Regions from separate parts of the Homo sapiens genome. Here all the other regions are linked to region 1. Evidence: promoter capture Hi-C in 16 types of primary human blood cells and fetal thymus (Javierre and others, 2016). All regions are on one chromosome and are shown on one strand. Each heading gives the region's core, a stretch centred on a gene start or on the middle of the fragment in contact. The rest is flanking DNA. Distances are from core to core; before and after follow the strand shown.

Region 1 (3,580 bases), core at 779-3,278:
CAGAATACAAAAAAGTTCAAAATGCAGCTGACCTTGATGAGTTAGGATTATGCTGGAAATCAGTTGCTGAAATTTAATTATTTCTATTACTTCTCCCGCCTTCTCCCAAGTTAAATCATATTGAATAAGGGCGTTTTGGAGAAAAATCCAATTACCATAGAATTATTTATCTTTAAACTATCTAGTTTGCACCCAATTAATTTTTCCTCAGCAGTGCAGTAGAGTAAAATTCAAGGTCTACTGCTAATACAAAAACTTCCTTCCAAAAAAAGAGTAAATGCTACTAATTTTAAATATTTCTACACTTAAATTAAAAGAATGAAATATACGCTAACAAAGGCAAATACAAAATACTCTTCCCAGAACTTACTTCTGAAACCTAGCTGTTTTTACACAGCAGTTTTAATTAACATTTTTCAAAATTGTAGAATAAGTACATATTTTCAAAAATAAAACCACCGAATACTCCATACACACACACAAAGTTCTCAGAACGAGAGCAAAACATGCATATATCCTCACTACAAAAAGAAAAATACTAATACTGGAGCATTTTGCTGTGTCTCCTTACCTCGAGTGCAGTAGATTGCAGTAGGGCCAGCCGATTTATTTCCCTGCAGCTTAGTTATCATAAAACGGAAGGGGCGTCTCGTTTGCTCATTTTTGTTTTTTTTTCTAAACCAAGTAGCGTGCATCTATCCTTCTCCATTAGCTGGATTAACAACCTGGAAAAAGTGCCGCCCGCAAAGTGAGCGCCTGGAGCAAGGGACAGTCCCCGAGTGGCCGCCCCTCCCTTTCGGTGACGCTCCACTTCCTGTCGGCCTAAAAGGCATTCCCAGGAAGCTCGGTTTTGTAGTTTCCAGCCCACCTCCGAAAGCCAATCCTTTCCTCCATTTCTTCTCCAAGGTAACAACTTTTAAACATTCACGTGACGGACCACCTTCCCTCAGCCAAACAACTTCCCTGAAAGGCGCCCGAAGGAGCCTTCCCATCCACCGCGGGTGCCCAGGAAAGGCCTGTGGGGCTCTCCTCCCCGCGCTCCACACGCCCTCGCATCCCACCGAGGGGCCAGCTTCTGCCTGCACGTTGCTGAAACTGGCCTGGAGGTTCTGACAAGAATTAGAGCGGCGGCCGTTGCCCCGGGGATGACCTGGAAGCGAAAGAGACCGGCACGAATTCTAGAGTTTCGGGGTTTCCGCGGGTTGAGATTGTACGGGAAACAATGCATTAACCAAACCTAAAAATCAAACAAACACGTCTGGTAGAACCTACCATTAAAAAGCTTCTTTCCTATACTACGTTTAACAGCCTTTATTTTGAAAGACATTGATTGATGCCAGGCATGGTGGCGCACGCCTGAGGTCTCAGCTACTCCGGAGGCTGAGGAGGATCACTTGCGTCCGGGAGTTCCAGGCTGTAGTGAGCCTCATTGTGCTCCAGCCTAGGTGACAGGGCGAGACCTTGTCTCTTAAAAAAATAAAGAAAGAAAAACATTGATCGCCTCCTGCGTGGCAGTCCAGAAGGGTCAAGCGCTGTTTTCGGGGTGGCGTGGAATGGATTCCTAAGATTTGGGCGCCCATAGAGTTAACGCAGCAAAACGATCACTTGCGTTTCCTGCGGACTGGCGGCAATAGAACACGTGGCTGCCTAGACTCTTAATCACTGATATCTACCACACCAGGATTTAATGCCAGTTGGGAGGAAATGGCGAAAGGGCAGGCGCTGGAGCCCATGCATCCGGGAACACTGGTGGTAGGCGGTCGGGTGGGCGTGAGCGGGCTCTCCATCTCCCAGCCCAGTCTGCAGGTCGCCACCTCAGGATTTTCTTCCTGAGTCCGGGTGGCAGGATTCCATCCCAGGTCAGCCCCTCACACCCCCTGGTAGTTGCCACCTCCTGGCGTCCCTCCAACAGCTCCAGCACCTTTCTCATCCCGCCCCCGCCGCAAGCCACGCCCTCCGCCGCGCAGGCCCCGCCCGCGACCGGCCTCCCTCCTTTCCTGTCCCAGGACGCGTTGCGCGGCCCGGGCCGGAAGTAAGCGAATTCCCGGGTGTGTGTCTGTGTCTGTCTGTGTCTCGCAGCGGCGCGCGGCCCCGGACAAGCGCTGGGGATTCCCGTTTGAGGCGTCACTACTGTCACTGCCATCACCCCACGGAGCCACTTCTAGAGGGGAGTAGACCCGGCCCTTCGCCGGGCAGAGAAGATGTTGCCCCTGTCCATCAAAGACGATGAATACAAACCACCCAAGTTCAATTTGTTCGGCAAGATCTCGGGCTGGTTTAGGTGCGGGGTGCTGTGTTTGCGGGGAGGGGGTGTCCGGCAGAAAGGGAGAAGGCCCAGACCTCAGGATGGCCCGAGGTCCAGTGAGGGAGAGTCAAAAACTCCCCGTCAACCCCTAGCTGTGAAGAAAGGAGCATGTGAACTGGGAGGGTCTTGAAGAGGGTACCCAGCCTCGGGGTCCCGGCACCTCCTTAACTCTCCCGGCTCTTTTCCACGTGTATCATTCCCAGGTCTATACTGTCCGACAAGACTTCCCGGAACCTGTTTTTCTTCCTGTGCCTGAACCTCTCTTTCGCTTTTGTGGAACTACTCTACGGCATCTGGAGCAACTGGTAACCAAAGGGGAAAATGGTTTGGGCGGAAGCTGGGTGTGAGGGAGACGAAGCACTGTTTGCTTAATGCCACGTAGCTCCTCACTAGGAGGTTCAGGTCCTACCTTTGTTACCTACCTCTGCTGCTGAGTTGCTTTCTCATACCCACACCAATCTGGTAGGGCTACAGTTCTTGAGTAAGATCTGGGCCTATCCTGTGCAACCTCTCTTGTCACGCTCCCCTCCAGTTCCATCAGACAAGACTGACAAGCCCCTCCTTATTTTAGCAGATGGGCAGAATCTTTCATTTCTAATTGTAGGCCTTAGGTTTACCCACTTTGTTGGAATTGGGAGAAACTTGTTTGCTGCCTCTCTCGGGGGGGAGTGGCATTTGGATTTCACCCTTAAGATTCTGAGAGAGTATATCTGAGATGTTCTACTTAGTTTGTTATTGGGGCTTGGAATGGGAGGTTTTATAAAGTGATATCGGGAGGAATATGTGTCATTCTCTTCTCTCTTTAATGCCGAAACTGTCTCATGATTTTCCTGTAGTCTTAACTGCGATGTAAAAATCCCATATAGTTTCTAGAAACAACATTTCTTGGGTTTTGGTGGCACCTTTGAGGGTTTTTGTTTTTTTTGAAACATCCTTAGGAGGAGGAAAATCTAGTGTGTAACTCTGTGGCAGTGAAGTTACTATTATTCAGGTATTTGCTGTTGAGTAACTTAAGGTCTTATGAAGTTGTTCTGCTAACAAGACTGTCACACTCCTAGGTGTACTAATTCTGTCTTTAGATCCCATACTCCTTCAAAAATCTGATGAAAGCCAATACTCAGAATTGTACATAAAGCTTCAGGATGTTGTTGGGTTCCCTGTACTAAATCTTGGACTCTAGATTAAGAACCTGTTTTCTATTTATTAAATAGACTTAGTCTCTGTTGTTTAAGACCCATTTTCAGAGAAAATCGCTGTCCTTGATCTTCTGTTGAG
Region 2 (3,580 bases), core at 494-2,993, 930 kb before region 1:
AATGGGCAGTTGGTGGAGTAGTCAGAACACACATAACATTTATTAATTAAGTTTGCCTTTCTATATGAGTGCAGTACATGGCACCTGTATTAGTCCATTTTCATGGTGCTGATAAAGACATACCCGAGACTGGGAAGAAAAAGAAGTTTAATTGGACCTACAGTTCCACATGGCGGGGGAGGCCTCAGAATCATGGCGGGAGGTGAAAGGTACTTGCTTACATGGCTGCAGCAAGAGAAAAATGAGGAAGAAGCAAAATCAGAAACCCCAGATAAACCCATCGGATTTCATGAGACTTATTCACTATCATGAGAATAGCACAGGAAAGACTGGCCCCCATGATTCAATTATCTCCCCCTAGGTCTCTCCCTCAACACGTGGGAATTCTGGGAGATACAGTTCAAGTTGAGATTTGGGTGGGGACACAGCCAAACCATATCAGCACCCCAAAACAATTACCATAGTAACATCAAAGATCATTGATCACAAAGCACTATACCAGATATAATAATGATGAACAAATTTAAATATTGCAAAAATTATTGAATATTATGTGACACAGAGACACAAAGTGAGCACATGCTGTTGGAAAAATGGCACCAATAGATGTGCTTGAGGCAAGGTTGCCACAAACCTTCAATTTGTAAAAAAAAAAAACAAAAAAACAAAAGCAATGTCTGTGAAGAGCAATAAAGCAAATCACAATAAAACGAGGCATGCTGTTATCATCATCTAACAGGCACATTTTGGTTTCAAAAAAAACTGGGCATGTATTAAGATCTAATATGTATTTTACCATCCAGGAATTTTCTCAAGACTGTATTGCAGAAAATTTTAAAACCAGTTATTCTACTCTAATACAGTTACTTATTTTTCTTCAATATCACTTTTTTTCTAAGTATGTCTCTCTTGGACATGGTTTTAATCATTTGCAATATAAAGAGACATAGGCTTAATTTATAGCAGCCCTGAGTTAACAAAAAGAGATAATCCTATTCGCTTATTTGATAATCCAGCTGAACCTGAAGTACTGATTTCAGCCTGTTCATCACCTGAATGGGCTGCCGTGGTTAGAGGGTTTCCAACACAGCTACTGGAACACTTTTAAAAGGTAATGCTGTGATCCATGCAGCCAGGAAGGGGTTGGTCCCTCATAACTCTGCAATCCTCTGGGCCCAGTTTTCTTTTTCCTCTCCCGGTTGATGACACTAGGCCCATTGGTGGTACGGCTTTGGGTTTCCTTCAGTCTCAAGATCTCAGTCAGGGTGGGTGAAGTGGAAGAACAAGCCTTCTTGCAGACCACTGGTTGGTTGGCAGCCTTTGCCATAGCTAATCTGGTTGTTTTCAGGTCAGTGACAGTCACTTTTAGGAGAGGGTTCGTTTGCTTTCAAAATCCATCTCCCCGTTCCTCTCAGGGTTCTTTGCCCCAAAGGACTTTGCCCTTCCTTACGCAGTGGACACCTTGGCACCCTCTGCAAACAGACAGTCCCGCAGAGGCCCTCGACGAGTGTCACTCCATCTGTTTCGCGCTCCTAGGAGAGGTGTAGCAGAAAGCAGTGCCCCAGGCCTCCACGCGACGGTGAAGCAGGAACCAGGGGCTGCCAGCAGAGCAGCCCAGGTGCGTCGCCTTAGGGACAGAGCTGCCAAGTGCCGAGCTGGGGCTGCCAGAGCCGAGCCGGGAACGGCATTTGCCAGAGCCGAGGCGGAAGCCGGAGCATTTGGGGGACGGGACCGCGGGAACCCGGAAACGCCTGGGCTGCACCGAGCTGGCGGTGGCTACGGCGACGGGAGCCGGCGGCGCTGCGGGTCAGCGGTCGCGTAGGACCCAGCGGACTCGGCAGCCTGGGGCGCCCGGCGGAGCTGAACCGCGGCCCCCGGTGGTGGGCTCAGCCGGTCGAGCTGCGCGGGAGGTGAGTCCTCAGCGCACCTGGGGAGGGGCGGGAACCAGGAGGCTAGCGGCTGCGGGGCGGCCCGGGAAGCTCCTGGAGGAGGAGGAAGAGGAGGCATGCGAGGGGGCTGATGTGAAGTCTGTAGGGGTGAAGGGGACGGTATCGAAGACCTGAAATACAGTGCTAGCTAAGTAGGGGTGGGAGCAGATGAGGTGACACGTTGTAACTCCGACGGACGACGTGCGGAATGTACTGGGTGGAGGAGGAAAAAAGGCCCGAGGAGAGGGGTGTGTCAAGCGAATGAAGACGGCAGTGTGTGCCTCAGCGCCTGGTGCGTGCGGAGCTAGTGACGGGTGGGCCCGGCTGGGGCCCGTCATTCCTTCAGTGAACATCCCATGAGCTCTCGCTCGGTGTTGAGCCCTGTGGTAGGCACAGATGCACCCGACCAGCACCTGGAGCTCAAGAAGCCGCAGGAACTTAAAGAAATGGAAAGGCTGCCCTTGGTAAGGCTAGTAAGAACACAAGGACTGTTTGAAGTGGGGTGAGATTCTCATCAGAACAGGTGTGTGGGTGCATTGCTTTATAGTAAAAGACGATCTTTTATTATGTTCTCTTAAATGCAGTATTTGAAAATTAAGTCTTTTCGTTTTTGAAATCAACATTCGACTTTAGTAGTTAAAGATGAAATTTGGTGCAGTTTCTTACTTGGTGTTCTTATTCACTTTCACTGGTAAACTCAGGGTGTTTCAAGGGAATGACTTGTAAACTTATATTTCTGAGGCTAACTTTCCTCCCAACTGTTGATTCTATCTCTTCAGCATCTCAAATTTAGTTCTCCCCTTTTTCATTCCCACTACCTGTCTGCTAAATATGCTCGTCTTTCCTCTTCTTACTTGCACTATAGCAATAACTTCCAAACTGGACTTGTCCTCAGCCTGGCACCCTTCCAGTCACTTGCCTCCATATTACTTTTAAAGCCAAAGATCTTATGACTTTCTTTTTTTGGTTATTCCTTCCTCAGAAATACGCAGTGACTCTCGATCGGCTTCAGAATAAAATGTAAATTATTTAGGGAGGCATTTAATAAATTTTATATTATTTAGGGAGGCTTCAGATTTTTCCTTCAGAATTTGAGTCTGACGGTGGCTCCAGTAAAATCAATATGATTCTTTTTTTTTTTTTTTAGACGGAGTCTCGCTCTGTCGCCCAGGCTGGAGTGCAGTGGCGCAATCTCAGCTCACTGCAAGCTCCGCCTCCCGGGTTCATGCCGTTCTCCTGCCTCAGCCTCCTGAGTAGCTGGGACTACAGGCGCCCGCCGCCACGCCCGGCTAATTTTTTTGTATTTTTAATAGAGACGGGGTTTCACCATGTTAGCCAGGATGGTCTCGATCTCCTGACCTCGTGATCCACCCACCTCGGCCTCTCAAAGTGCTGGGATTACAGGCGTGAGCCACCGCACCCGGCCCCCAATATGATTCTTTCTTTTTTCCTTTTATTAAACAAGTATTACTTTTTTCCACATATCCTATTTTTTAGCCAAACTAGTCGTTAATTAGACGTCCAGTTTCTGAACATGCTATATGCCTGTCAGCCTTGGTGTTTGCTTTTATCATTTCTTCCTACAAAGAAGAAACAAGGAAGGCCTTCCTTGCTGTCTTTGTAGAAATTCTACTTATTCTTCAATTCCTTAA
Region 3 (3,580 bases), core at 478-2,977, 630 kb before region 1:
TTGCCTTGTGATCTTTGTTGGACTCTTATAAGTAGTTCTGCTTTTGCCCTTTGTCCTGTTCCCTCAGAAGCATGTGATCTTTGTTAGACCCTTACTAGTAGTAAGGTCTTTTTGCCTTTTGAAGCATGTGATCTTTGTACTTTTGTACCTACTCCCTGTTCTTACACCCCCTCCCCTTTTGAAACCCTTAATAAAAACTTGCTGGTCTGAGACTCAGGCGGGCATCATGGTCCTACCGATATGTGATGTCACCCCCGGTGGCTCAGCTGTAAAATTCCTCTCTTTATACTGTCTCTCTTTATTTCTCAGCTGGCCAACACTTATGGAAAATAGAAAGAACCTACGTTGAAATATTGGGGGCGGGTTCCCCCAATAAAGATGTCAGATAGGGGTACAGCTTTTTTATATTCCATCCCTACCATCATTGCCTTACTTCAACTTCTGATTATTTCTTGCTGGATAATTGTATCATTGGCATTTCTCCCTTCAGGCTCTTAAGCCTCTTATTCACCCTTCTCCTACTGCCAAAGCCTTCATTTTAAAATGCAAGTATCATTACTTCTCTGATTAATATCTTACGGCAAATTCCAGATTTGGTTAAGTACATAGTCTGTGTGTTCCCTAAAACATTCTCTGTCGCAAAGCAGCAGAGCGTTGGGATTACCAGACAGTGGTGTTCACATCAGACCACCCAGGTTCACATCTCAGTCTTCTAGTTAAAATTGTGTGACCTTGTAGCAAATTGTTTAACACAGGAAGCTGTAAAACAGTAAAAACAGTAAGTACTTTATCATGTTATGAATGCATGCAGTGCACAACACCTAAGTGCTCAATAAGTGTTGCCTGTTATTGTTACAGTATATTATTAATATATTGTAATTGTCCCCATAATAAACTCTAAATACAGTACATGTTAATTATTATTGAGGATGACATTGTAATTGATTACGTCTCAGTCTCTCCATTATACCTCCAATAACTTCGGGGGTAGAAGCTGAATTACTCTTTTTTGCTTCCCTAGAGGTTTACATATTATTTGGTACTCAATTATGTAGGAACTGAGCCACAGGCAGAACCAAGAAGCTGGCTATTGCTTCTGCCCTCGCCTGAGGTGAATTGTTAGCTGCACTGTTCCTGGGAGTCAAGAGCTTGCACTCACTCTCAAGCAAAATGGCATAACTTTGGCTTTTCAGAATATTAAACTAGTGATTCTGCCTTTCCCGCCTCTCAAATAAATGGTGTGTCACCCTAGAAAGAAAGATAACACACTCCGCATACACAAACACGCACACCGCAAGGAACCAAAGGCCAAGAGTATCAATGTACCAGGGCGCACACACTTCGAGAGACAGGTTCGGTGCATCGCAGGATCCCAATCTTTCTTGCATCTTCAGCTCTAAAAGTCGGCACCTCGGGGTATGCCAGGATCCTCGAGAAAACAGATATAAACACATATTTACCCACAAAACAGAGATAAAGCACAAGCCTGCGGGATAACTGGAGGAGTTATCTTACAGTTGAGACTTTCTGCAACCTGCAGATTTTGCCGTGCCCAGGGCACAAGTTTTTCAGGGCTCCTGGGCACCCCCGCGACCGTCATCTCACTTCCCCGGCAGCTTCCTCGCCCCGACCGCAGTGTTCCCAGCGCGGCTCCTTTAAGCCGAGCTACGCGCATGCGCACTGACTGCGGAACTGGGCGAACCCGGGGGTTCGTTTCTGCTGACTCCAGTGTCCCGAGAGGCGCCGCTTCTTCCGCTTTCTCGTCAGGCTCCTGCGCCCCAGGCATGAACCAAGGTTTCTGAACTACTGGGCGGGAGCCAACGTCTCTTCTTTCTCCCGCTCTGGCGGAGGCTTTGTCGCTGCGGGCTGGGCCCCAGGGTGTCCCCCATGGCGGGGCCGCGGGTGGAGGTCGATGGCAGCATCATGGAAGGGGTGAGTACAGAGCGAAGCGGCCGGGGCTGCAGCCTAACTAAGGAGGGGAGCTCTCACCACCGGTGTGCTTACTTCTCTTCTCCCTGTACCCCAACCTTTGCAGGGCGGCCAGATCCTGAGAGTCTCTACGGCCTTGAGCTGTCTCCTAGGCCTCCCCTTGCGGGTGCAGAAGATCCGAGCCGGCCGGAGCACGCCAGGCCTGAGGTAAATCTGGCTGGAGGGGGAGTTGGGCCGTGAAGCTGGGGGATCGGGGGGTCGGGCTGCCGGGCTGGGGCATCGGGAGTCCGAGTGGTGGAACCCAGAAGGTCCCAGACGCAGGTATGGGCGATCCAGGGCGGGGCACTCTGCCTGGGCGGTGGCCTGGGTTGTAAAGTCTTGAAAGCCTGGAGGGGTGAGTTTAGAAATGGTCTCGAGTTTTCTCTGTTTGACTAAATAGTGTCATTTGCTGAAGAGCTAGCTTTTAAAATGTTTTCTCACCTCACCGGGCATTCCAAATATCCGAACAGCACGTATGAGCTGGCAAGATAGATAGGGCAGAAATGCTTGTGACGCCAGAGGAAACCCTGTTTTATAACCAGTGCATTCTGGTTCTGCTGTCAGTTTTAGAATCATAAAACAGGAAAGAATCCTGAGATGTGTTATCCCAGCCTTCATTCATACCTCCAGAGAGCTGTTATGACCAGAATTATCTGTTGTGGAGAGGGAAACACCTTGACATTTGACCTTATTTCTTCTGTCTGGGTAGCTGGGCATGCCACTAGTTGAGCTTCAGGTACATGCACCTGCTAGAAGAGGACCCAGGTTTGAAGCCACACTGATTGCTTTGTATGTATTCTGTATTTATTACATTTTAATAAATCAGCGGTCTCAGTCTTTTGTCTACAGTTTTGAAATTACCAAAAGGCAATTACTGATATGTTAATGTTAATTGCCTTTGTCATAGTTTGCAGCCCTCCAGTTCACCAACAGGGGAATCCAATTCATTAGGCTGTAGGTGTTGTATTAGTTTGCTAGGGCTGCCATAACAAAATGCCACACACAGAGTGGAGCTTAAACAACAGAAATTTATTTCCTCACAGTTCTGGAGGCTGGAAGTCCAAGATCAAGGTCCTGACAAGGTTGGTTTCCTCTGAGAGCCATGAGAAAAGGATCTGCTCCAGGCCTGTCTTTTTGCCTCTTCACATGGTGGTTCCTCTGTGTACCTTGCCCCTAGCGTCTCTGTATGTTCTAGTTTTTTTTTTTTTTATAAGGACACCAGTAAGATTGTATGGTGGCCTTATTTTAACTTAATTATCTCTTTAAAGGCTCTATCTCCAAATATAGTCACATTCTGAGATACGGAGGGTTACAGTCTCAGCATATTAATTTAGGGGGAACATAGTTCAGCCCATACAGGCACCATAGATTGTTCAGTCAAGTGCAAGCGAGACTGGTGGCACTGAAATAACTATTAGTTTTCTTCTTTAGCACACTTCTAATTTGCAGCAATATATCAGGGTATGTATTTATAGTCAGAAATAACTGGTCTGCAAGGAAGTGTTAAAATGATACATACTAGCAGGTAGTCTAGGTGCATAAAAACCCAAAAGGAAGCTGACACTGAAGATGTGGCACTTACTGTGGTTAGACCTTGCTGTTTTCTTGCCAT
Region 4 (3,580 bases), core at 644-3,143, 600 kb before region 1:
ATCTAGAAATTATTATAGATCTTTGTCTTTATTATTTTTTAATTTTACTTTTATTTTTTAAACTTTTAGGTTCAAGGGTACATGTGCAGGTTTGTTATATAGGTAAACTTGGGGCATGGGGATTTGTTGTACAGGTTATTTCACTGGCCAGGTACTAAACCTAGTAGTACCCAATAGCTATTTTTTCTGATCCTCTCCCTCCTCCCAATCTCCACCTTCAAGTAGGCCCCAGTGTGTGTTGTTCCCCTCTTTGTGTCCCAGTGTTCTCATCATTTAGCTCTCACTTATAAGTGAGAACATGCAGTATTTGGTTTTCTCTTCTTGTATTAGTTTGCTAAGGATAATGGCCTCCAGGTCCTGCAAAGAACATGATTCATTCTTTTTTATGGCTGCATAGTATTCCATGGTATATATGTACCACATTTTCTTTATCCAATCTGCCACTGATGGGCATTTAGGTTGATTCCATGTCTTTGCTATTGTGAATAGTGCTGCAATGAACTATTTTTGAATTTTGTATTATACCATCATCTCTCTGTAATAGCTACTGAGAAGAAATCTTTCAGGAAAATAATTTGGAGTAGATGTTTGGCGTTTAGTCATTTCCACATTGATGAGGCTTATGCCCCACTCCACAGGAGAAAGCAGAATTGTAGTGAACTTTTCCAGTATCTCTTTTGGGCTACTTGTTCTTCAAAGCAGGGAGAGGAGTCAGTAATCTGGTTGGTGAAAGCCTGACTTCCATCAGGAGACAGTCCCCTCCACTCCCCGTAACTGGTGCACTGCCTGCAGCAAGGACAGTAAGAAGGCTGGGTCTCCCGCCCACCTTCCCCCCATGCTCCTTCGTGAAAAGACACTTGTACAGTGGAATTTTTTAGACAGACCTGTGATCCTTTAGGTGGTGGCAGGGCAGGTTTGCTCAGGATCTGCCTTGAAAATCTTCCCCACTGGCTGGGGCTAAGCCTAAATTTAAGGGGAGGCAGTAGGTGGCTCTACTTTGACTTCAGGTCCTAGATCTCTTGCTTCCCAATCCAGCTTTACCAGAGAGCCTCTATTTTCAAAGTTATTAGTGCCCTGTATCTGTCCTTTTTTTTGTTTTGTTTTTTTAATGGAGTCTTGCTCTGTCACCCAGGCTGGACTGTAGTGGCATGATCTCAGCTCACTGCAACCTCTGCCTCCCGGATTCAAGCAATTCCCCTGCCTCAGCCTCCTGAGTAACTGGGATTACAGGCATGCACCACCATGCCCAGCTAATTTTTGTATTTTTAGTAGACACAGGTTTTCACCATGTTGTCCAGGCCGGTCACGAACTCCTTACCTCAGTGATCCGTCTGCCTCGGCCTCCCAAAGTGCTGGGATTACAGGCATGAGCCACCATGCCTGGCCCTCCTTGTATCTGTTCTTTATTGATTAGAACCTGTAAGAAAGGAGGCAATTTTACTGCTAGTATGAAACATAAAGTGTCTTTTTAGGAAGAACAATTGTGAAAACATTGTTTTGGTGATCATTAAAATAATCAGACTCTTGTAATGGTGGTGTTGATGGGGTGGTGATGGTTGGTGGTTTCTTTTGGTTAGCTCTTTCCTTCACAGTAGAAAATTAGTGTGACATTTGGTTTTTGTCTGGGTTTTAATGTGTGCTGCTTCCACAGCTCTGAGATGGAGCTGATTGATAGGTGTGCATGATATGTTTTTTCAGTGATTTCTCTGGGCACACAGGCATTTCCTAAAGGAGAAGGGGAGGGGGGAAAACACTCAGGGACTCCTTACTACAAAGTTAACAAAAACTCCAAGTAAAGCCAGATTAAAATGCACATTAAAAGCAGTAGTGAAAGGGAAAGACTTGGTCTTTGTAGATGTTAATGGGGTAGGGCCGGGCAGATATCCCATCACCTGGTGGAGATTTCAAATGACCGTTTTCTCTTTTAGCAGTAGTACCACCTTTTTCTTTCCTATCCTGACCCTAGCCAATGTCTTTTGTGGGCAGCAATGTGCTACCCTTCATTTAATACAGATGCTCCTCAACTTAGATGGGGTTATCTCCCAATAAACGCATCGTAAGTTGAAAATAAGTCAAAAATGCATTTAATACACCTAACCTACTGAACATCATAGCTTAGCCTTGCCTACCTTAAACATGCTCAGAACACTTACATCAGCTTACAGTTTGGCAAAATCAGCTACTTTATAATAGTGTTGAATAGCCTCGTGATTTATTGAATACCGTAATAAAAGTGAAAAACAGAATGGTATGTTGGTTGTTTGCCCTTGTGATTGTGTAACTGACAGAGCTGTGGCTTGCTGCTGCTGCCCAGCATCATGAGAGATATTGGACCGTATATCGCTAGCTGGAGGAAAAGGTAAAAATTCAAAATCTGAAGTGTGCTTGCATATCGCTTTTGCACCACTGTAAAGTGAAAAATTATAAGTTAGACCATTGTAAGTTAGGGACTGCGTGTATATCCAAAGGTCAAGCACTATACAACAGCTATGCAGGATATCCCTAGGAGGACAGAACCTTCTGGACCACCTTGTAAAGCTCAGTGACTTAAAGCCATTGGTGGCCAAATAAATGCAAAACACACACACTGGCCTGTAAGAGTTTAGAGAAATTGGAGTTCAGCAAGTGGAACCACTGAGGCAACAATTTCTGAGGCATAGGTGGATCTGTCCTACCAAATAATTCACGGGGCTTATTTTGAGTTTTCTGCTATGTGTTTCATTGGTCCCCAAAGTCAGTCATAACCAAAATACTGATTTTGATATTTCACTGGTTATACGCCCATGAATCAGTCATAGCTCAATCAAGAAAACAGAAACCACATTTGTTATTGCAAACAAAGGTGGGATCTTACGTAGGAAATTGTTATGTAGTTGTTGGAAGGCTGAAAGAGGAATGAGAGGACACTGAGATAACCAAAGATTAGTAAGTGCAAGCAGTTAACAGCCTTAGGACTGGGGAAATAAAAGGTAAGAGTAGTGTTATCAGAGTGCAACCTGGCAGGCGCGCGTGTGGTTTAGGTGGCATGGCCTAGTTGGTGAGGGAGCACAGTGGGGCTGGTATTTCTACTGTCAAGGGAGCACAGCAAGGGTGTTGCCAGGGCTGCAATGGTGCTAGAAGAAGCTCAGTGCCACAGTTTGCTGCTGCTGCTATGAAAGCAATCCTGACAGGAACTGGAAGCAGGGAAAGTCCTTTCTCCCTTTCTTCCTCTCTCTTTCAAAGCTCCACTCAGGGTTTTCTTTTTGCAGAACCTAACCAGAAACCAAGTGGCAAGGGAGTCTGGAAATTATATTTTGCACACCCAAACATGAACCAGAGTTTTGAAAGGTGTGCTTGAAGCTGAGAGACAGTAAATAGCCAGCAGAATCTATCCTTTTGGTCAGTCAGCATCAATTTGTGTTTCTATCTTCTGATAACGATAGTATCTTACTGCTTTTGCTTAGCAAGATACAACTGTCTTTTTTAGACATTTCCATCCTCTTCCTAAAAAAGAGGGCCCAAAGTTCCAGTAGTCACTACATCCATATCTGGGTGATGTCTGTTTTATGTAATCTCACCTAAATATTCTAAAAGACTAAAT
Region 5 (3,580 bases), core at 733-3,232, 560 kb after region 1:
TGTGCTGAGTCAGTTCCTGGGTGGGGGCCACAAGGCCAGATGAGACAGTTTATTGATCTGGGTGGTGTCAGCTGATCCATTGAGTGCAGTGTCGGCAAAATATCTCAAGCACTGGTGATGTTAGGTTTTACAATAGTGATGTTATCTCCAGGAATAATTTGGGGAGGTTGAGAATTTTGCAGCTTCCGGCTGTGTGACCCCTAACCATAACTTCTAATTGTGTGGCTAATTTGTAAGTCCCGTAAAGGCAGTCTAGTTCCCAGGCAGGAAGGGGTTTTGTTTTGGGAAATGATTGTTATTATCTTTGTTTCAAAATTAAACTATAAACTAATTCCCTCCCGGAGTTAGTTTGGCCTACGGCCAGGGATGAACAAGGACAGCTTGGAGGTTAGAAGCAAGATGGAGTCGGTTAGGTCAGATCTCTTTCACTGTAATAATTCACTGAGTTATAATTTTTGCAAAGGTGGTTTCACTCTCATGCCACAACAATCATCAACACAGAAGAAGACTTCTGTGACTAAATGTGTGTGGGTATTTCCCCCACACGCCAAGCAGTGAATATCAGTTGATACCAGTATTCTAATTCAGTTCTGATACTATCTTTCAGTTCTGTTGCTATCTACCCTGAGATAGTGTCGGATCCCACAGGTTAAGGGTTCCCCAAGACAGCACGCCCCCAACACACACACTAGTCACAAATCTGGGCTTCTGGAATTTCTGACTGACTGTCTTCAAATTGGGGTCCTCATGACCCCCCTTTTTGATTCAATTAATTTGTTGAAGCAGCTCACAGAACTCAGGGAGACACTTACTTATGTTACTTGGTTTATTATAAAGGATATTGCAAAGGATACATATGAAGAGACACGTAAGGTGAGGTATGGGGTAAGAGGCTGTTACAGTAGGCAGCTACTCAGACATAAGCTGGGCAAGAGAGGTCCCCTTCCGCTCCAGTAGGACTGTCAGGCGACCACCATGTGATGGTCAGGCAGTTGCTAAACTGTCTCTCTAAAATCATAATTGGCCACAGCCAGTGCCAGGAAAAGGCAGTCTCCCAATAGATAGAAACATCTGAAATTGGTGATTAGCAGCTTCTCGGTAAGATATCAGGAGTTGGGTGAGTGAGCTCAAGCCTGTGTACTAAGAGGCAAAATGGTGGGGTTTAACTGGTAAATGACCTTCTAGGACATTTGACTGGTAAGGGAACATGTGCTCAACTCTAAACAGTAAACACAGAGCACGCGGCCCCTCCCAAGTGCTGGCAGGCTATGAATGCGGACAGCCCACCTCAAGAGAAGAATCCCGGGAGAAGAGATGCAGACCTCGGAAGCATGCCAATGTATAAAACCCCAGGTCAGAGGTCAAACCGCGCGCTTATCTCTCAACTAGACTGCTTGGCCCTCTTCCAAATGTACTTTACTTCCTTTCATTCCTGTGCTAAAGCTTTTTAATAAACTTTCACTTCTGTTGTAAAACTTGCCTGGGTCTCTCACTCTGCCTTCCGCTCCTCCGTCAAATTCTTTCTTCTGAGGAGGCAAGAATTGAGGTCGCTGCTGACCCATAAGGATTCACTGCTGGTAACATACTTTGGTGCCGTGTGACTCAGATACATTCCCTAGTGCTAACAGGGCAAAGAGCTTTTGTGCCCTCCCTGGGCGTGCCACCCCCCAGGAACCTCCACGTGTTCAGCTCCCAGGAAGCTCCCGTAACTATTTCTTGAGATCCTGCAGAACACAGTATCTAACTATAAGCTTAATATAGTCCAATAAATATATTGACTGATTTGTCATGTGTGCCTCTATCTCCCTTTACATTACCTTGAACTCTTGACTTCCTTTCATTTACTCAAGGTCATTCATCAGCTCCAGAGAGGATCTTTAGAGCACAGCTCTGAGAATAAGAGTGAAGTTCTTGGTTTGTGAATTGTGAAAATTTGGACTTGGGTGCTAGAGACCTTAGCCCTGCAGTGGGCAGAATTTAGGCCCTAAGTGATAGATTTGGAAGAATATGCTGTGCATCAGAGGCAGTTTTCTGATATTCAGATAGGTAAAGATTCTATGGGATGAGAGAGAGAAAACAAATCAGGAGAGAATCACAGGACATTGCCGATGTGTCTCTGAGACAGGTCCGACACTCCTCCCAGCCTCTTGGGGCTGAATCTTGATGAAGGAATAATGACGTATCCCCATATGGGTTTGGGGATCACAGCAGAGAAAGCTTGTGCCTTACTTCCTGGGTGAGATGGAAAGTTAATCATGTTTACAGTCTTGTACTGCAGGCTTAGTGTAGAAGTAGGAGAGATGGTGGCTTGTTGAGTTCTTTTGCACCATGTAGGAAGCAGCCAAAGGTTTTCTATGTCCTCAGGAGACACACAAAATGAGAGAAGAAGGTGGGAGGGAAGAGAAACAGAGAATATGTAGGGGTGTTCTTCCTGAAGTCACAGGAAAGAAGGCATCTCAGCAGATGCTAGTGTGGAGAGATGAGAACAACTTTCTACCCACTTCCTGCCCCAGCCCACAGCCTTGACATCCTGTAGGCTTCCCCTTCCCTATATTAAACCAATCTTGGAAAAAGGAGGAGAAAACTGTAATTGAATCGTATATGCCACCTGGTGGGATGGGGGCTAAAAATAGAAATTCCGTCTTGGTGATAGTGATGTTATATTTCTTGCATACCCAAGCTTTATTCCTCTGACATTTGTGAATATTCTTTCCCTCAAGCTCACCTCAAAGTCCTCATCTTTCAAGAAGCATTCTATTGCCTTTCCTCGGTATCACATAATTTCTGATTTATTTCCTCCCTTGCACAGTGCCGCTGGACTAAGAGAAAGAACATGCAGATTCTAGTTTCAGCTCTCATTTGCTGAATGTCTGATGGAGAACAACTCACTATCTCTGGGTCTCCATTTGCTTTTATGTAAAACAGTATGTCAGAGGAGGTTGTGAGTTAAAGCTGAATAATGGATGAGGAAGTGTTTTTATTATTTTTATTTTTTGAGACAATGTCTCTGTTGACCAGGCTGGAGTGAAGTGGCGTGATCTCAGCTCACTGCAACTTCCTCCTCTGGGGTTCAAGCTATTCTCCTGCCTCAGCCTCCCGAGTGGCTGGGATTACAGGCCTACCCCACCATGCCCAGTTAATTTTGTATTTTTAGTAGAGATGGGGTTTCACCATGTTGGCCAGGCTGGTCTTGGACTCTTAACCTCAAGTGATCCGCCCCCCTCAGCCTCCCAAAGTGCTGGGATTAGAGGCATGAGCCACCACACCTGGCCGAGGAAGTGTTTTGAGGACAAGAAAGTTTCAAATGCATGTAAAGTGGGATTATGGCTGCAACTCTTTTACCCTGGCTGCAATATTCCTAGCTGGGAATGTGATTTTGGTATCATTTATATATTTAAATTAGGCATGAACTACATTTCAGGATCTCTATTCCCACTCATTGAGAGGTTGAGGAAAATCCAAGAATCGAATCCCTTCTCAGTTAAGAAGTAAGTTAGCACAGACCACTTTATCCCTCAAAGAGGGAGAGAAAATAATTCCAAGAAGCTTCTTTGTTCTAAAACTTCATCTGCTCCTCCTA
Region 6 (3,580 bases), core at 285-2,784, 520 kb before region 1:
TACACTGAACAGTATGGTAAGTATATGTATGTAAACTTGTTTCTATTTGCTTTCATTTATAATGCTGTGTTTCGACATTATTAATAAAGTTTAAACACTCTCCTTGGTTCATTTTAGTGGTAAGGTAATCTGTTGGTTGTCTGGAATGACATATGTAGCTTTAGGACAATTAATGGGCACTGCATTACTTGCTGAATGATTGAATTTTAAAAACCCAAATGTTGATAAGTCATGAGTTGTCTCAATGAAGCATACTACATAGAATCTCTAATTAGGAGAAAAAGATTTACTGTACCAGTCCAAAGTTGGAATTGCTTCAGTTTTGTGGAATCTTAGTTTCTTCATCTGTAAAATAGGAATTATAGAACTGTCACAGGGTGGTGGTTAGTATTATATTAGAAAACATGTCTTAGTCTGTTTTGCATTGCTATAAAGGAATACCAGAGGCTAGGTAATTTATAAAGAAAAGAGTTTTATATAGCTCATGGTTCCACAGGCTGTACATGAATCGTGGCACCAACATCTGCTTCTGGTGAGTCCCTCAGGAAGCTTTCACTCAAGGCAGAAGGTCAAGGGGAACAGTCATGTCATATGGCAAGAGAGGGAGCAAGGGAGAGGGGAGGGAGGTGCCACACTCTTTTTAACAACAAAATCTTGGGGGAACTAAGAGTGAAAACCCACTCAATCCCCTCAGAATGGCACCGAGCCGTTCATGAGGGATCTGCCCCCATGACCCAAGGCCCCACCTCTTAACACTGGGGATCACGTGAGATTTGGAGAGGACAAATATCCAAACTATATCAATATGTAAAAGCTTTGTACATTTTAAAGTCCTATACATAATAAAGTTACCAATGTAACATTTGTGAATTCTGATAGGGAATATAATAAAGACAGTTCTTCTACAAAATCGATGAACACCTGTTTCTCAGCCTTAAAGCTATTGTTTATATATGGGAAAGCTGTCCAATATAATTTTAGGAATCTAAATGACCATTTAGTCAAGACTCAGAAAGGGAAGCCTGGGAAAGGTGTGTGACTTGCCCAGTGCAGCAGGCAAAGTCAGGGCTAGATTTCATGGCTCTTGACCACATTTTTCCTGTTCTTCTTTCCACCTTCAGTAGGAACCATAGCCTCTGGTTTACAGTCATCCTTTGTTCACTCTTAGCATTGCCCCAGCTACCTGACCTTGTTGTCCCACGCTGACTTTGAGGCTCCTCTGCCTCTTTCATTCCAGTAAGTGTTAGGGCCATTCTGTCTGCTTCACTTCCACGAACCCAGACTCCAGATTCTCCCACTTGGAAAATGCCTTTGTTACTCACTTTGCACATTCTGTCCCTCTCACACTACTGGGATTGCTAGACCTTCAGTCTCCCTGTTCTCTCAGTCCACTGGCACCCTGCTGATGTCTCTTGCCTGCAGCCCATGGTCACTTACTTCAGTAAGGTCTTGGGTACTTTGCTTTCTTGTCTTTCTGCCTTGCCAGCTCTCACCCTTGTTGTTTTCCCAGTGGATGATTTCATGCACTAATTTACTGGGAAGCAGCAGTACCCTTGCCACTCCCAGCCTTGCACTTTACTCTACCATACCAGCTGTTCCATGCATTTGCTCATGAAGACCAGTCTGACTGGGATGCCCTTACCCTCTGGCTTGATAGCTCTTCATTCTTTAATACCTTGTCCAGCCACCACCCTTTAGGAAGCATCTTCTTGTCCTTTTGGACTGGATTGAGGGTGCCTCCCTTGTTTTCCCATCATTCTCTGTGCAGATCTGTATCGTTGATGAATTGTAATTACCTGTTTGCACCTGTCATTCTCACTAGACTATGAGCTTCTAGAGGGTGGAAGGTGGAGGATGTCATGTATCTTTGTGTTCTCAGTGCCTAGTGCAGGGACAACAGACACACAGAGACTTCTTTTGACTTTGTCATGATCCCCTTCATTTGCAGATCCCCCTTTCTCCTTTTGCTTCCAGAGGTTTCAGAAGAAGAGCCTGCCTCCATCCTTCCTGTGTGCTGATTTCTTAACCCTTTGTTATCTAACTTTTGCCTTCCCTACTCTACCGAAACTGCTCTAATAACGTCTTAAATGCTGAATCTGATGGCACTTGCTGGATCCTCAAACTCCTTTACTTCTCTGAGTAATTTCGCACTGTGTTAACTAGTAACTTCGTCTTAGGATTCTTCTCTTGTGTGATTTCCCAGTTCTTTTAGGCACATTTCATTTTTTAGTTTGGAAATTTTTATTCCTTCCAAGAAAGCTTGTGTGATTTTTCTTCCTCATTCTGTGCTTTATATAGATAGGTAATATTTTGCTGTACATTTTATTCCAATCCCAAATTTCTCATTTTTGAAATGAGAAGATGTTTTTTTCCAGTTGATGATTTGAGTTGGTGATTTATCGCTATTTTTGTGTTTCTGTGTCTATATGCATTCTATTCCCAATGTCCTTATTTTAATTATGTCAATCAGAATGGAAAATTATCCCATCAAACATATGCTTAGATTAAAAATCCAAACATAAAATGCATCATCACCAATAAAAAACCTGCTGCTTATTTAAACTGTACTTTAAAAAATTGTCAGTACTAGGAATTAGGCAGTAATAGGTTGCTGTTTGGTCTTTCCCCTAGGATAGGGGAAGCAATCAAAAGAGGGAAGATGCATTGAAGTGAGAACAATTTGTTAAACTGTGTATGTTATTTAATGTTAAATGTCATCAATGATTGATAGCCTTGAGCTGGAATTATTATTCTGGTAATTCAAGGGATCCATAAACCCTTGAAATTATACAATTTTGTATGTATTTACATTTTTCTTCTGGGAGGATTCATGGCTTTTTTTCAGGTTCTCAGAGGGATCCTTGACACAGACATGCTAAGAACACTGGGCTAAAGTCTTCTGAAAAAGAAGACTTTACTAACAAAAGACAAAGTTGTGGTATTTTGAAAAAACTGAATACCTTCCTCTATTCTTTTTTTTTTTTTTTTTTTTTTGAGAGGGGGTCTCACTGCGTCACCTGGGCTGGAGTGCCATGGTGCAGTCATAGCTCACTGCAGCCTCAAACTCCTGGGCTTTGATGATTCTCCCACTTCAGTCAACTGACTAACTGGAAATATAGGTGCACACTTCTGCACCCCACCCAGCTAACTATTTTTTTTTTTTTTTTTTTTTAGTTTTTGTAGAGGCAGGGACACACTATGTTGATCAGGCTGGTCTTGAACTTCTGGGCTTAAGCTAGCTTCCCGCCTGAGCCTCCCAAAGTGGTGGGATTACAGGCATGAGCCACTGTGCTTGGCCGTCAATACAGTTTTAATTATTGATTTCATTTTCCTCTGAGAAAAATAAAACCTGAGCTTGGAGAAAAAAAAAGTCTCTGAAAAAAGGGGACATTTTCTAGGGCAGTGGTTTTTCTTTTTTTTAATACCTGCTGTTATGAATCAACAGGATAATTACAGTAATCTTGAGGACTATTTTAAAAAAGGATTAAAGGAGTATTCACAGAAATGTAATTTTAAATTTACAAAACATCCCATATAGCCCTTTCAGGGTAAAAGGGGAAGTGGGTGGGTATCATGAAAC
Region 7 (3,580 bases), core at 740-3,239, 510 kb after region 1:
ATTACCTGCCATGAAGAAGAAAACATGGGAGAATATGGGAATCTTCTTTTCTGAAATCTCCTTTGTATGATTTTTCTTTCTCTCTTTTAAAATCATAGCTATAATTTTAAAAATCTCATTTAAAACTCTCTGTGTTTATTGTAGAAAAAAGTTAGAAAATATAAATAAGCAAAAATAATGTAAGAACTATGCATAATATCACTACTCTTGGATAATTACTGTTAACACTTTGGTAGACATTATTTCTGACTTTCTTTCTGAAAACACACCCATAAGCACACATATCCTTTAGTTATGCTAGTGACATCTTGAAGGATATTAAGGCTAAGTACATTGAGAAAACTTTACTACTAGATGTTCAAGATGTACCAAGCTTGGAAGATGATACAGAACAGTCCTTTACTTTCTCCTCTGAGTTATGTGTCAGTTCATCCAGGTTTGCCTCAGATGGGCTCCCTCTGGGCTCCCTTTTTACCATTTTTTCTCTCTGCTAGTTTATTGGTTTCCACTCTTGAAAAGGTGGTGTCAGGGCCTTTCATTCTGTGCTTTATTTAGAAGGGATGTTTTGTAAAAATCAGAATTAAACATTTACAGGCAAAAAACCCTTTGATTATATTGATGCCTTTTATAGCAAAAATGTAATACTTTACTAGTCTAACAGATTCTCTCTCTCTTTTTTCCTACCTTAAAAAGGCACAAACAAAACAAAACAGAATGAAATAATAACTGTAACAACAACAATAACAATATAAGAAAAAACAAAACACAAAATTCCTAGGAAGCAGTAGAAAAGAAAATAAAGAGATGAGGAAGAGCTCTGAGCTCTGACCTGCTTTATATTTACATATGTAAATAGTGTCTCAACATACATCCTATCTCAACAATCCATTTGAAAAATGTGATCATATTTTATACAACTTGAAACTCATTTTTTCACATAATAATCATAAACATCTTTTCAATCATCTGATAAATGTATAGATTATATTTTAATAGTCAAATATTGCTACATTACATATAACTTATCTAACCTACCCCCAATTATTGGACAGTTATTACCTTGTTTTTGCTGATACAAACAATAACAGGCTAAAGTAATTATATAATTATTAATGTCTGGGTTTACAGCCCTTTACACTTATGATAGGTATGTGGAAAATATATAATCAAAGTCATGGCAGACATTACTCACAGATCATGACATTAAAGCTGAGCCTGTCAGCACAGTGCTCAATGTATCCACAAATAATTGATTGGAGATGACAAGCTGGTTGAAGTCTAGGCTGCTGTATCTCTGTGAGTCTTCCTATTGCTAAAAACAGGAATGGAGACAGGTTGGGGAAAATGGCAGATATGAGGCAGGACTAAACTGCAGCTCCCATTCAGACAGAGAGCAGCATGTGGAGACTCACATCGTGAACTTTTGCTCCCACATCTATCACAGGAACATACCAGGAAATCTGAGAGAATTCACAGACCCTCTGAAGGAAGTGAATCACTCTTGCAGGCCCCGAGAGACAGCCAAAGTGTGAAAGTGTGAAAGGGGGATCATCCACCCCCAAACACACACTCTCACTGGGGAACCTGAAGGTTCAGATCACAAGAGAAGGATTTGACTTTACCCGGGGTTGAGACAATTCTAGAAAGCTGAGCAAAATACAAGGGTAGAAGAAGCAGCTAGAAGAGCCCTGTGGCTCTCTTGGTCCCCAGGGAAACCATTTCTGACTTTGTCTCACAGAGGTCCTTGGGGAGTGCTGCCAGAGGAACTGGGAAAAGACCACAGGGAGGAAACTTTTAGCTGAACTGTGTAACAACTTCAACTGAACACAAAGTTTCCTGGATGGAACTTGAGGGAGGGGTGAATCTGGAGTGCAGACACAGCACAGAAGCTGTGGCAGGTGGGGAGCCATGAAACCTGAAAGCCCTGCTTGCTTTTACAGCTGGAGATTGGTAGCCTGGAGCAAGTTATCAGCCCTGTTCACCCACTGCCTGGAAACAAACTTGGTGCTGTAGAGGGGGCCACAGCAAGAGTGAGACTGGCCTTTGGGATATGTGGGAGCTGGGTGAGGCCTGTAACTGCTGGATTTCCCCCACTTCCCTGGTGGCCTACAAGACAAGGCAGAGGCAGTCATAATCCCCCTAGGAACATAACTCCATTGGTCTGAGAACCACACACTCCATTCCCAACAGTGTCTACAGCAAGCCCCACCCAAGGATAGTCTGAGCTCAGACCTGCCTAACCCTGCCCCCACCTGATGGTCTTTTTCTACCCGCCCTGATATCCGAAGACAAAGGACATATTGTCTTGGGAGTTCCAAGGCCCTGCCCACCACCTGATCCTCCCTATACTACCACAGCTGATGCTCTCTTGGAAGTTCACCTTCTGGAAGGAGACCAACCAGCAAAAAACTAGTACAATAAACAAAACTACAACTAAGAACCTTCACAGAGTCAATTTCACTCCGCTGCCACCTCCACCAAAGCAGGTGCTGCTATCCATGGCTGAGAGACCTGAAGAAGGATCACATCACAGGACTCTGTGCAGAAATCCCCTGGTACCAGCCCAGTAGCTCTGCTGGGTGGCTAGATCCAGAAGAGAAATAACAATCACTACAGTTCTGCTCTCAGGAAATCACATCCCTAGGAAAAAGGGGATGGCACTACATCAAAGAAGCACCCTGTGGGACAAAAGAATCTGAACAGCAGCCCTTGAGCCCCAGATCTTCTCTCTGACATAGTCTACCCAAATAAGAAGGAACCAGAAAAACAATTCTGGTAATATGACAAAAGAAGTTTCTTTAGCACATCCAAAAGATCACACTAGCTCATCAGCAGTGGATCCAAACCAAGAAGAAATCCCTGATTTACCTGAAAAAGAATTCAGAAGGTTGATTATTAAGCTAATCAAAGAGGCATCAGAGAAAGGTGAAGTCCAACTTAATGAAATAAAAAAAGATACAAGATATGAAAGGAAAAATCTTCAGTAAAATAGATGGCATAAATAAAAACCAATCAAAACCTCTGGAAATAAAGGACACACTTAGAAAAATGCAAAATGCACTGGAAAGTCTCAGCAATAGACTTGAGCAAGCAGAAGAAAGAACTTTAGATCTTGAAGACAAGGTTTTCAAATTAACACAATCCAATAAAGACAAAGAAAAAAGAAAAAAAAAATGAAAAAAGCCTCCAAGAAATTTGGGATTATGTTAAATGACCAAACCTAAGAATGATTGGTGTTTCTGAGGAAGAAGAGAAATCTAAAAGTTTGGAAAACATATTTGAAGAAATAATTGAGGAAAACATCCCCAGCCTTGCTAGAGACTTAGACATCCAAATACAAGAAACTCAAACAACACCTGGGAAATTTATCACAAAAAGATCATCACTTAGGCACATAGACATCAGGTTATCTAAAGTCAAGATGAAGGAATGAATCTTAAAAGCTGTTAGGCAAAAGCACCAGGTAACCTATAAAGAAAAACCTATCATCAGATTAACAGCAGATTTCTCAGCAGAAACTTTATAAGCTAGAAAGGATTGGGGCCCTATCTTCAGCCTCCTTAAACAAAACAATTATCAG

Evidence for each region. The method cuts DNA at HindIII sites, captures the fragments that hold promoters and counts their contacts. A CHiCAGO score of 5 or more calls a contact.
Region 2: the fragment with the promoter of SLC35A3 here is called in contact with the fragment with the promoter of SLC30A7 in region 1 in 6 of 17 cell types (total CD8 T cells, naive CD8 T cells, naive CD4 T cells and 3 more); the score reaches 8.9 in total CD8 T cells.
Region 3: a contact is called between the fragment with the promoter of RTCA here and the fragment with the promoter of SLC30A7 in region 1, in 7 of 17 cell types (M0 macrophages, M1 macrophages, naive CD4 T cells and 4 more). The highest score is 9.8, in M0 macrophages.
Region 4: a fragment that was not itself captured here is called in contact with the fragment with the promoter of SLC30A7 in region 1 in 1 of 17 cell types (monocytes); the score reaches 5.6 in monocytes.
Region 5: a contact is called between a fragment that was not itself captured here and the fragment with the promoter of SLC30A7 in region 1, in 2 of 17 cell types (total B cells and fetal thymus). The highest score is 7.5, in total B cells.
Region 6: a fragment that was not itself captured here is called in contact with the fragment with the promoter of SLC30A7 in region 1 in 1 of 17 cell types (activated CD4 T cells); the score reaches 5.8 in activated CD4 T cells.
Region 7: a fragment that was not itself captured here is called in contact with the fragment with the promoter of SLC30A7 in region 1 in 2 of 17 cell types (total B cells and naive B cells); the score reaches 6.5 in total B cells.

Annotation. Positions count from the first base shown.
Region 1 is chr1:100,894,062-100,897,641 of GRCh38, forward strand. It overlaps SLC30A7 (solute carrier family 30 member 7), which reads left to right and starts at 2,029. Exons shown (of 11, transcript NM_133496.5): 1 at 2,029-2,281; 2 at 2,509-2,610. The coding sequence starts at 2,202. It overlaps EXTL2 (exostosin like glycosyltransferase 2), which reads right to left and starts at 781. Exons shown (of 5, transcript NM_001033025.3): 1 at 572-781. RefSeq lists enhancers at 113-836, 837-1,559, 1,454-1,523, 2,074-2,323, 2,374-2,533. The HindIII fragment of the contact is 2,158 bases long and covers 1,281-3,438 here.
Region 2 is chr1:99,968,253-99,971,832 of GRCh38, forward strand. It overlaps SLC35A3 (solute carrier family 35 member A3), which reads left to right and starts at 1,744. Exons shown (of 8, transcript NM_012243.3): 1 at 1,744-1,910. All of the region lies in intron 1 of LOC124904230 (a long non-coding RNA gene), which reads right to left. RefSeq lists enhancers at 1,224-1,273, 1,334-1,383, 2,104-2,193 and a silencer at 1,784-1,983. The HindIII fragment of the contact is 6,900 bases long and covers 1-3,580 here.
Region 3 is chr1:100,264,489-100,268,068 of GRCh38, forward strand. It overlaps RTCA (RNA 3'-terminal phosphate cyclase), which reads left to right and starts at 1,728. Exons shown (of 11, transcript NM_003729.4): 1 at 1,728-1,932; 2 at 2,036-2,136. The coding sequence starts at 1,888. It overlaps RTCA-AS1 (RTCA antisense RNA 1), which reads right to left and starts at 1,686. Exons shown (of 3, transcript NR_110435.1): 1 at 1,516-1,686; 2 at 1,341-1,429; 3 at 254-759. RefSeq lists enhancers at 1,419-1,968, 1,537-1,896. The HindIII fragment of the contact is 11,806 bases long and covers 1-3,580 here.
Region 4 is chr1:100,296,849-100,300,428 of GRCh38, forward strand. No RefSeq gene overlaps it. Among named protein-coding and RNA genes, the nearest start is that of MIR553, 17 kb to the left of the region's middle. The HindIII fragment of the contact is 9,400 bases long and covers 1-3,580 here.
Region 5 is chr1:101,451,606-101,455,185 of GRCh38, forward strand. No RefSeq gene overlaps it. Among named protein-coding and RNA genes, the nearest start is that of LINC01307, 130 kb to the left of the region's middle. RefSeq lists enhancers at 810-859, 1,229-2,428. The HindIII fragment of the contact is 466 bases long and covers 1,750-2,215 here.
Region 6 is chr1:100,379,240-100,382,819 of GRCh38, forward strand. All of the region lies in intron 3 of CDC14A (cell division cycle 14A), which reads left to right. Among named protein-coding and RNA genes, the nearest start is that of CDC14A, 29 kb to the left of the region's middle. The HindIII fragment of the contact is 1,445 bases long and covers 813-2,257 here.
Region 7 is chr1:101,408,900-101,412,479 of GRCh38, forward strand. No RefSeq gene overlaps it. Among named protein-coding and RNA genes, the nearest start is that of LINC01307, 87 kb to the left of the region's middle. RefSeq lists enhancers at 1,352-1,401, 1,422-1,471, 1,772-1,851. The HindIII fragment of the contact is 3,236 bases long and covers 372-3,580 here.